Linked DNA regions of Homo sapiens: region 2 is linked to region 1. Evidence: promoter capture Hi-C in 16 types of primary human blood cells and fetal thymus (Javierre and others, 2016). All regions are on one chromosome and are shown on one strand. The core of a region is centred on a gene start or on the middle of the fragment in contact, and the rest is flanking DNA. Distances in the headings are between cores, read along the strand shown. Region 1 holds the start of FAM43A (family with sequence similarity 43 member A). Region 2 has its middle 140 kb from the start of LINC01972.

The links. The method cuts DNA at HindIII sites, captures the fragments that hold promoters and counts their contacts. A CHiCAGO score of 5 or more calls a contact.
Region 2: a contact is called between a fragment that was not itself captured here and the fragment with the promoter of FAM43A in region 1, in 1 of 17 cell types (naive B cells). The highest score is 6.6, in naive B cells.

What each region holds. Positions count from the first base shown.
Region 1 is chr3:194,683,460-194,687,471 of GRCh38, reverse strand. FAM43A (family with sequence similarity 43 member A) reads right to left here and starts at 1,589. Exons shown (of 1, transcript NM_153690.5): 1 at 1-1,589. The coding sequence starts at 645. LOC124909474 reads left to right here and starts at 563. Exons shown (of 3, transcript XM_047449428.1): 1 at 563-1,612; 2 at 2,054-2,134. The coding sequence starts at 1,219. RefSeq lists enhancers at 1-242, 243-748, 1,500-1,859 and a silencer at 570-759. The HindIII fragment of the contact is 4,459 bases long and covers 1-4,012 here.
Region 2 is chr3:194,903,669-194,907,680 of GRCh38, reverse strand. No RefSeq gene overlaps it. Among named protein-coding and RNA genes, the nearest start is that of LINC01972, 140 kb to the right of the region's middle. The HindIII fragment of the contact is 2,234 bases long and covers 1,038-3,271 here.

The DNA of each region.
Region 1 (4,012 bases), core at 340-2,839:
CAGCTCCTGCTGCTGGTGACGCGCGTCGTCCCGCCGCTTGAGGCGTTTAAATTCCGCCAGCGCGTTGGCCGACGTCTGGTAGAGCAGCAGGGCCATGGCCTGCGCCTTTTCGGGCTTGGACACCAGCACGGCGTGGCAGCGCAGCATCACGGCCTTGTGCTTCAGCTCGTGCCGGTACACCCAGGCGAAGACCTTGGGCAGCCGCGCGTCGGCCACGCAGTAGGTGACGCGGTGCAGCAGGTAGAGGTGGCCCGGGCGGCGCAGCGCGCGCTCCTCGGCGTGCACCATGCGGATACCCTGCGCACTCACCGTCAGCTTCATCTTGGTGCCCTGACGGCCCGCCTCGCTCTTGCTCCAGATCTTGCCCACAGCAAGGTCGGTGCAGCCGTCGCCGCGCGCCTGGATGGTGGTGGCATTGCCCAGGTAGAGCACGGTGTAAGTTGGGTCCTCGCTAGTGATGTGCAGCTTCTTGCGCTTGGAGCGGAACATGCTGCCCACCCGGCTAAGCGCGCCTTCGGGGCACGCCCGCGCCAGCGAGCTGAGCGCCGAGTAGTGCAGGCTCACAGCGTAGCCCTTGGGCTTGGACGCCTGCCGCGGCGGCGCCTCGGCCAGCAGCTCGAACTTGTGCTTCTTCCACGGCAGCATCTCCGGAGGGCGCCCCGGCGCAGCTGGGCGGCGGCGGCGGCGGAGCGCCGGGTGCGAGGCCCGCTGAGCCACCGGCCCCTGCCAGGCTCGGCCCGGGCAAGATCGAAGAATAAAACTACTGGGAGCGGCCCTGTGGTAGGGAGTTGGGGGGAGGGGAGCAGAGAGAGTGCTTAGGAACCCCGCAGGAGGTGCGGGTAAATTCTCTAAAAAAGAAAATATTCAGCTTCGAGTGTGCAAAAAAGGTTGGTGCGGGGGAGACACGCGCGCACACAGAATTACCCCAGCCTGGGCAAGGGCGAGAGCAAAGAGTCTCAGGCAAGCAACAAAATGCAAGGGAGAAAGAACGAGCGTAGAGTGGAAAATGTCAGGAAAAAAGCTAGAAGCGCGCGTGCAAATAAAGAGAGCCCCAGCAACAGCACCCGGGATGGTGCAAGAATATGCAGGAACTCCTCGGCGAACGTGAGGTGGGTCCCCTAACACACACAACCCTCAGGACTGGGGCCAAAACCCGCGGAAACTCTACAGCGAGTGTGCCTAGGGGCCGGTGCTCCCCACCTCCGAGGGGTGCTGGAGATGGAAAGCCCCCCGTTTGGGCTGGTCTCAAGTCAGCAGCTCGCCCAAAGTGCGGTCGGATGCTGGGTCCGGCTGGCCGCGGCGGGCCCCGCGCAGCAGTCCCGCGGGGACTCACTGCATCTTCGCTCCGCCGGACGCCGGGGACTCGCGCTCGGCCCGCTCAGTGTCCGGGCTGGCCTGGCCGAGACGGCGCTGGGCTCCGAGAACAGGGGACGGGCATGGCCGGGTCCGGGAACCGCCGCTACCTCATTTCTTCCCTCCGAGGCGGTGTCCAGCTCCGCTCCCGGGCTCTCCACGGTCTGCTGCCCGCCTTTGCAGTGCGCCCTCTCCGGTGCTGCGAGCGGCGTCCGGCTCGCCTGCCTCACATCCTTGCCGTCCGGGAGGAAGATCTCGGGTAAATATAGGCCGGCGCGAACCATTCGCCGCGCGGGGACAGGGGAGGAGCAGAGAAGAGGATCTGTTTTGGGCTCCGACTCCGGGCGGATTCCTGGTTTCTTAAAGGGACCGCGTGACAGCCATTGGTCGAGGGAGCGGGGAGACCGGTCCAATCCTCCAATTACATCCCAAATTTACCAGCATCTCTTTTGTCTATGGAAATCACTGGGACCTGGGGTTACCCCGCAGCAAAAAGATTTGAATCCTGACACTCCACCCCCCAGGCTGAATTGCCACTCACTGAATACATGTATGTCTAGATCGAAACTTCTGAGGGAGGTGGCAGAAGATGAGATTACAGATTATAATTTCCTGTACAAAAAGTTTGGGAAAATAGTGGTTTCTTCCTTGTGTGACGGCTTTCTGAGAATGACTGGGTGCTGTTTAATATTATTTTCAGAATTGTATTCCATTAAAGAAAAGAGAGAGGCACAGAAAACACCAAGGCTTATCTCTCACTATCTTGAGCTCGTATTCACAGGTAAGCAGCAGACAGTGTAAAGTGAGGTGAGTGGTAACATGATTGGGGTGACTACTGTAGAATACCGTCAATGAATAAGGCTTTTCCCCGTCCGAACCCCGGCAAGACCCCCTCCTGCTGTCAGGCCTCAGGGTAGAGCAGTTTTCTGAGATACACACAATTTCTAATGCTCGTGTGTCGTTAGGACTTAGTTTACTTTGGCAAGCCGGTCATGCGGTTTCATTCTATCATTGACATATTTTGGATGAGAATTCCTAGTAAAAATTCAAATGACGTTTTTTATTTAAGTGACAAATAATGCCAGGCCACCCTCCAATGGGAGTGATAATTGCATCAGTATTGCTTTTATCATGTGCCAACTGGACAGTGTAGTTGTCTTCTGACCGGCTTGACCCTTAGCCAGTAACTCATTTCTGGGCCCTTGAAACAGCCTGCTTGCCTCTATGGTATGGTCAGTCAAAGCAAAAAGACGTATGGCTGGAGTGGGATCAATGTCCGAATGATCCTGCATCAAACTCCCAGCCTGGTCCTGGAGGAGGACAGTGATCCCTTCCCACCATCCCAGTCCCCTGGGGATCTTTGATGTCTCTGGCTTCCACGCCAGGTCTTCATGCCAGAGTCACTGCAACCATACCTGGAAATTCCCTTGGGATATTCCAACAAAATAAAACTGACCCCTGCCCACCCTCTACCTTTGCCAACTTTTAACCTTCCTTTGAAATCTAACTCAATTTTCTCAGAGTCGTTGATGCTGAGTTTCCATTTAAGTTACTTTGCTGAGTTTCCATTTAAGTTACTTTTCTGACTACCTTTTGGTGCCCGGCCCTGAGCTAGGAGCAGACGGGATTCCTGCCTCCTAGTCCAATGAAGGTTGTAAACTCTACCCAACTCTGGGTTTCCACTGGACTGTGGGTTCTCTGCAAGTACCCTGTATCCCCAATATGGTACAAATAGGCACTCAGTAACTAGAATTAATGAGCAAGATATGCATGTGGACAAGAAGACAGAGTGGGCTAAATGCTATGAGAAAGACTCAAAGCACTATGAGAAGCTGGAGGAAGAAAGCATTCATTGTGACTAGGAAAATCAGAAAAGGCTTCATGGAGGTGGTGACCTTTGAAAGATAAACAGAATTTATCCAAATAGGAAAAGACTGAAGGGCTTTATGGGTATAGAGGGTAGCAAAATTACAGAAGCATGAAAATGCATGCATAAGGCCAGGCGCGGTGGCTCACGCCTGTAATCCCAGCATTTTGGGAGGCTGAGGCGGGTGGATCACTTGAGGTCAGGAGTTCAAGACCAGCCTGGCCAACATGGCAAAACTCTATCTCTACTAAAAATACAAAAATTAGCTGGGCATGGTGGTGCACGCCTGTAATTCCAGCTACTTGGGAAGTTGAGGCAGGAGAATCCCTTGAACCCGGGAGGCGGAGGTTGCAGTAAGCCGAGATCGCGCCACTGCACTCCAGCCTGGATGACACAGTGAGACCGTCTCAAAAAAAAAGAAAGAAAGAAAGAAAGAAAATGCATACACATGTAGTAATTAAGATGGAGCTTGTAACAATCAAAGAATAAACCTTCCTGATTGTGTTTTTTGGCTCTCTTACACTCCAAGGGAAGGAATGGCCTCTTCATGGCTAACTGGCCCCACAGGGTCCTTCAACCAGAGCTATAATGCCTTACTCCTCAGCTGCACTGATGGGTTAATGGAGGGATACCAGACATGCTGTTGGAATGAGGTAGTTAGTACTATAATAAGCCATTTAAGGCAACATTAATTCCTTAAATTTCTAGGCTATCTTGTAGTGGCAATGAAGGAGATAGCACACGCTCTAAAGAACAAAAACTCTGGTAAAAACATATCAAATGAGGCTGTGT
Region 2 (4,012 bases), core at 905-3,404, 220 kb before region 1:
GAACTCCTGACCCTCATGATCCACCTGCCTCAGCCTCCCAAAGTGCTGGGATTATAGGCGTGAGCCACTGCACCCGGCCCAATATGCCACTTTTGCTAGAGTGTGTCTTCCTCTCCTCACCTACTGTTTGCAGTGGATTTTTTCCTGGCAGACCATCCTGGGTCACACTGACTTCACCCTTTCATGATAGCTCACACCATGGGCTGTGTGGACATTGGATAGCAGTTTGTTAGTGACACCCACACACTGTTCCAGATGCGGTTTATGAGAGCGTGTGTGTGGCTGTGCTTGTGTGTGGATGTGGGTACCCCGGGCCTACTCAGAAAATCCATAAGGTTCTGTGGCACTGGGAGCCTGTCGCGTGCTTCCTTTCTCTACTGTAGTGAGTGCTTAGACTTCAGCTAAGAACTCTGGTACCCACAAGACCTCCCAGGCATTCCACGGCAACTCTCATCCTCCCTCGGGGTAATTTCAAACCTTTGTAAGTCTCTTAGGAGCCCTGTCTGCCAGCCACTTCCTGCCTTCCTCTCAATGAATGACCCTAATTTTGTATCATTAGAAGACAGAGGCCTTTCATGGAAACAACTACACTTTCTACCCACAGCCATAGGTTTAGTCACCTTATTAGTATCTAGACAAAGAGTATCTAGCTCTTTCCTTCTCTTCTATTTCCATGCGAGAAATACCGCAGTGCTGTGGATCCTGTCCCTTCCTTTATTCTTTCCTTCAATGAACAGTCTTAAAGGCCTAAGATGCCAGGAGCTATTTCCAAATTCTTGACAGACATTGATCTTTGGGATTTTGGCATAAAAAAATAGGAATTTCTGGGAATTCTCCAGAATTACCAAAATTATAAGTTATTTAAAAAAGATTCTCCAACATTCTTCATGCTCTTTCTTCATTACTATGGATATCTAAAAATTTTTATTTAACAAATAAGAAGAAATATTAAGTTTGGTAGCCTTTGTAAAATATTTGTATTTGGTAATATTTATAAAGCATTTACACTTTGGTAGTAGGTGTAAAAAACTAAAGCTTCCTGGAAATATTCAAATGCTGGAAATCACCAGTGAACCTCACTGGGTAGTATTGACTAATGTAACATCTGATTTCCTCGCAAGGTTAACAGGGCCTCTCAGAATCATCTGTGGGAATTGCCAATTCAAAGACTTTCTTTGTTTCCAAAACTTGTTCTTTCTCTGAATACCATTCATAGAATTTGCATAATGTTTACTATAATATAAACACAGTAATAGTTATTGTATTTGGAGGAGTGACTCACTGTTTGCAGCAGAAAATCCAGGAACACACGTTGATGACAAGACGGTAGCTACAGGCAAGACTGGCCAGTGAGATTGTGGCCACTTCTCTTCTGTGTGCTCCTGTCCCTGTTCCAGGAAATTTTGACCTTAGCCTTGAACTTCGTGTGTCAATGTTTCTTGCTCTTGCTTTTGACATGACATCAGCAGATGCCTTTGACCAGGAATATTTCTATGTTAATTGTTGATCTTTGATTCTCAAAAAAGAATTATAATACTTTTTTTCTATTTTCTCAATTCCTTGATTGATTTTTCTTACTATTTGGGAAACATACATTTCCTGAGAAATGCAGAGAAGGAATTCCTGCATGGAAGCACCAATAGTGGGCGAGTAATGGATGCCACAGTTCTGACTAAAGGCATAGATTTGGGGATTCTGAGTTGGAAGTCTGGTTGTACTTACTGGATGTGTGACCCTGGGCAAATTACCTAACATCTTTGAGCCTCAATTTTCCTATCAGTAAACTTACCTCATTGTTGTTTTGTGGTTAAATGTGTGTGGTTTTGAGGTTGAGTTGTTTTGAGGTTAAATATGTTTGTGAAGCTCTTAGCACAATCTCTGGCATGGTACAAGTGGTAATATATATTGTAGCTATTCAGACACAAGCCCCAGTGAAGGATGCATACTCTAGTGCTATCCAATAGAACGGGAATATGAGATGCAGATGTGAGTTTAAGTTTTCTGATGGCCACATTAAGAAAACAAAAATAAACAGAAGAAATTAATTTTAACAACACACTTAATTCAATAGATCCAAAATATTATTATTCCAGTATGTACTCAATATAAAAAATTAATGATGAGATATTTTGCTTTTTTTGAAACAAAGTCATGAATATCCACTGTGTATTTTATGTTTAGAGCACATCTTAATTTAGGCACTAAATTTTCCCTGGAAATATTTGATCTGTATTTAGATTTCATAAAGTTTACAGAGACTCACATATTCAAGTTGTTTCAAATATACTTACAAGATCCCAAAATCCCATTACTGGGTATATACCTAAGAGAGTGTAAATTGTTCTATTATAAAGACATATGCACACATATATTCATTGCAGCACTATTCACAATAGCAGACATGGAATCAACCTAAATGCTCATCAATTGTAGACTGGATAAAGAAAATGTGGTACATATACACCATGGAGTACTATGCAGCCATGAAGAAGAACAAGATCATGTTCTTTGCAGGAACATGGATGGAGTAGGAGGCCATTATCCTTAGAAAAATAATGCAGGAACAGAAAACCAAATACCACGTGTTCTTTCTTATAAGCGAGAGCTAAATGATGAGAACACATAGACACATAGAGGGGAACAACACACACTGGGGTCTATTGGAGGGTGGACGGTGGGAGGAGGGAAAGGATCAGGAAAAATAACAGTGAGTATTAGGCTTAATACATGGGTGAAAAAATAATCTGTACAACAAACCCCCAGACGCAAATTTACCTGTATAACAAACCTGCACATGTAACTCTCAACTTAAAATAAGAGTTAATAAAGAAAAAAGAAAACAAATTTATCAGTAATGGAATCAAATATCAAAAATTCACTTTTCTTTAATATTCATATTTACATCAAAAAACTGGTTCATCTTTTTTTGAAGAATTAATGTAACTTTGAAGCAAAAACATATTAGTTTCAAAATTACTTCTGTCTGAGTTAAATGACTCTAACTCCTGGAACAACTTAGTATTATTAGCACAGAATTCAAAGAAATATTGCATATATTGAAAAGTAACTAATTTACCTACAAAGCATGCCAACAGCCCATACTTCAAATTTTCGTGTAGTTTTTGCAGTCAACTTAAATTATGCTATTGCTTTCAATTAAAATCTTCATGTTAGAAATATACACAATCATTATTATTGATATTTATTGTAAAAATTATCATCAATTTTAGCATAAATTTTTATACCTGACTAACTAGGTAACAAATAAGCTTTTCTTTTCCTTTCAAATTTAACTCATTCATATGCAGTGTGATAATGCTATATTTTGTCTTTGATGATTTAGTGTTTAGCAAGCATTGCTTTTTGTTAAAGAAAATTTTTGAATTGGAATTAGCACAGCAAATCCTTCTAAAATTCTTCCACCATTCAACCTATAGACATTGGTAAAGAACACAAGATCATTCAATTTACTGTCTTTTAATTTTTAGTCCTTTCCATAAACTGGCAATAATTCACACATTTGCACATGTGTACTGAATGGTTAGAACACCTCTATGTATGACTCTCCCCATAGACGCTTCTTTAGAAGGCTACAGAAAAATATTTTCATAAATGAAAACATTGGCCTCTTGTTTTAGAATTCCAGTGAATCTGGATTTTTAATCTAACATAGCTGGAGCACTGTCTATCATGCTAGAAACTAAATTTTCATGCTTAGCTGAAATTCTTATTTGACAGATACAAAAGATACCTACACCATGAATTTGGTTTTGTAGGGCGTAAATTGACATTTCTTTGTAAATTTGAGAGTCTTTTCAGACAACTTGTACACAAAAAATTAATTGAGCAGTGTATTAGTCTGTTTTCATGCTGTTGATAAAAATGTGCCCAAGACTGGGTAATTTATACAGGAAAAAGGGTTTAATGGACTTGCAGTTCCATGTGACTGAGGAGGCCTCACAATCATGGTGGAAGGCAAGGAGGAGCAAGTCACGTCTTACATGGATGGCAG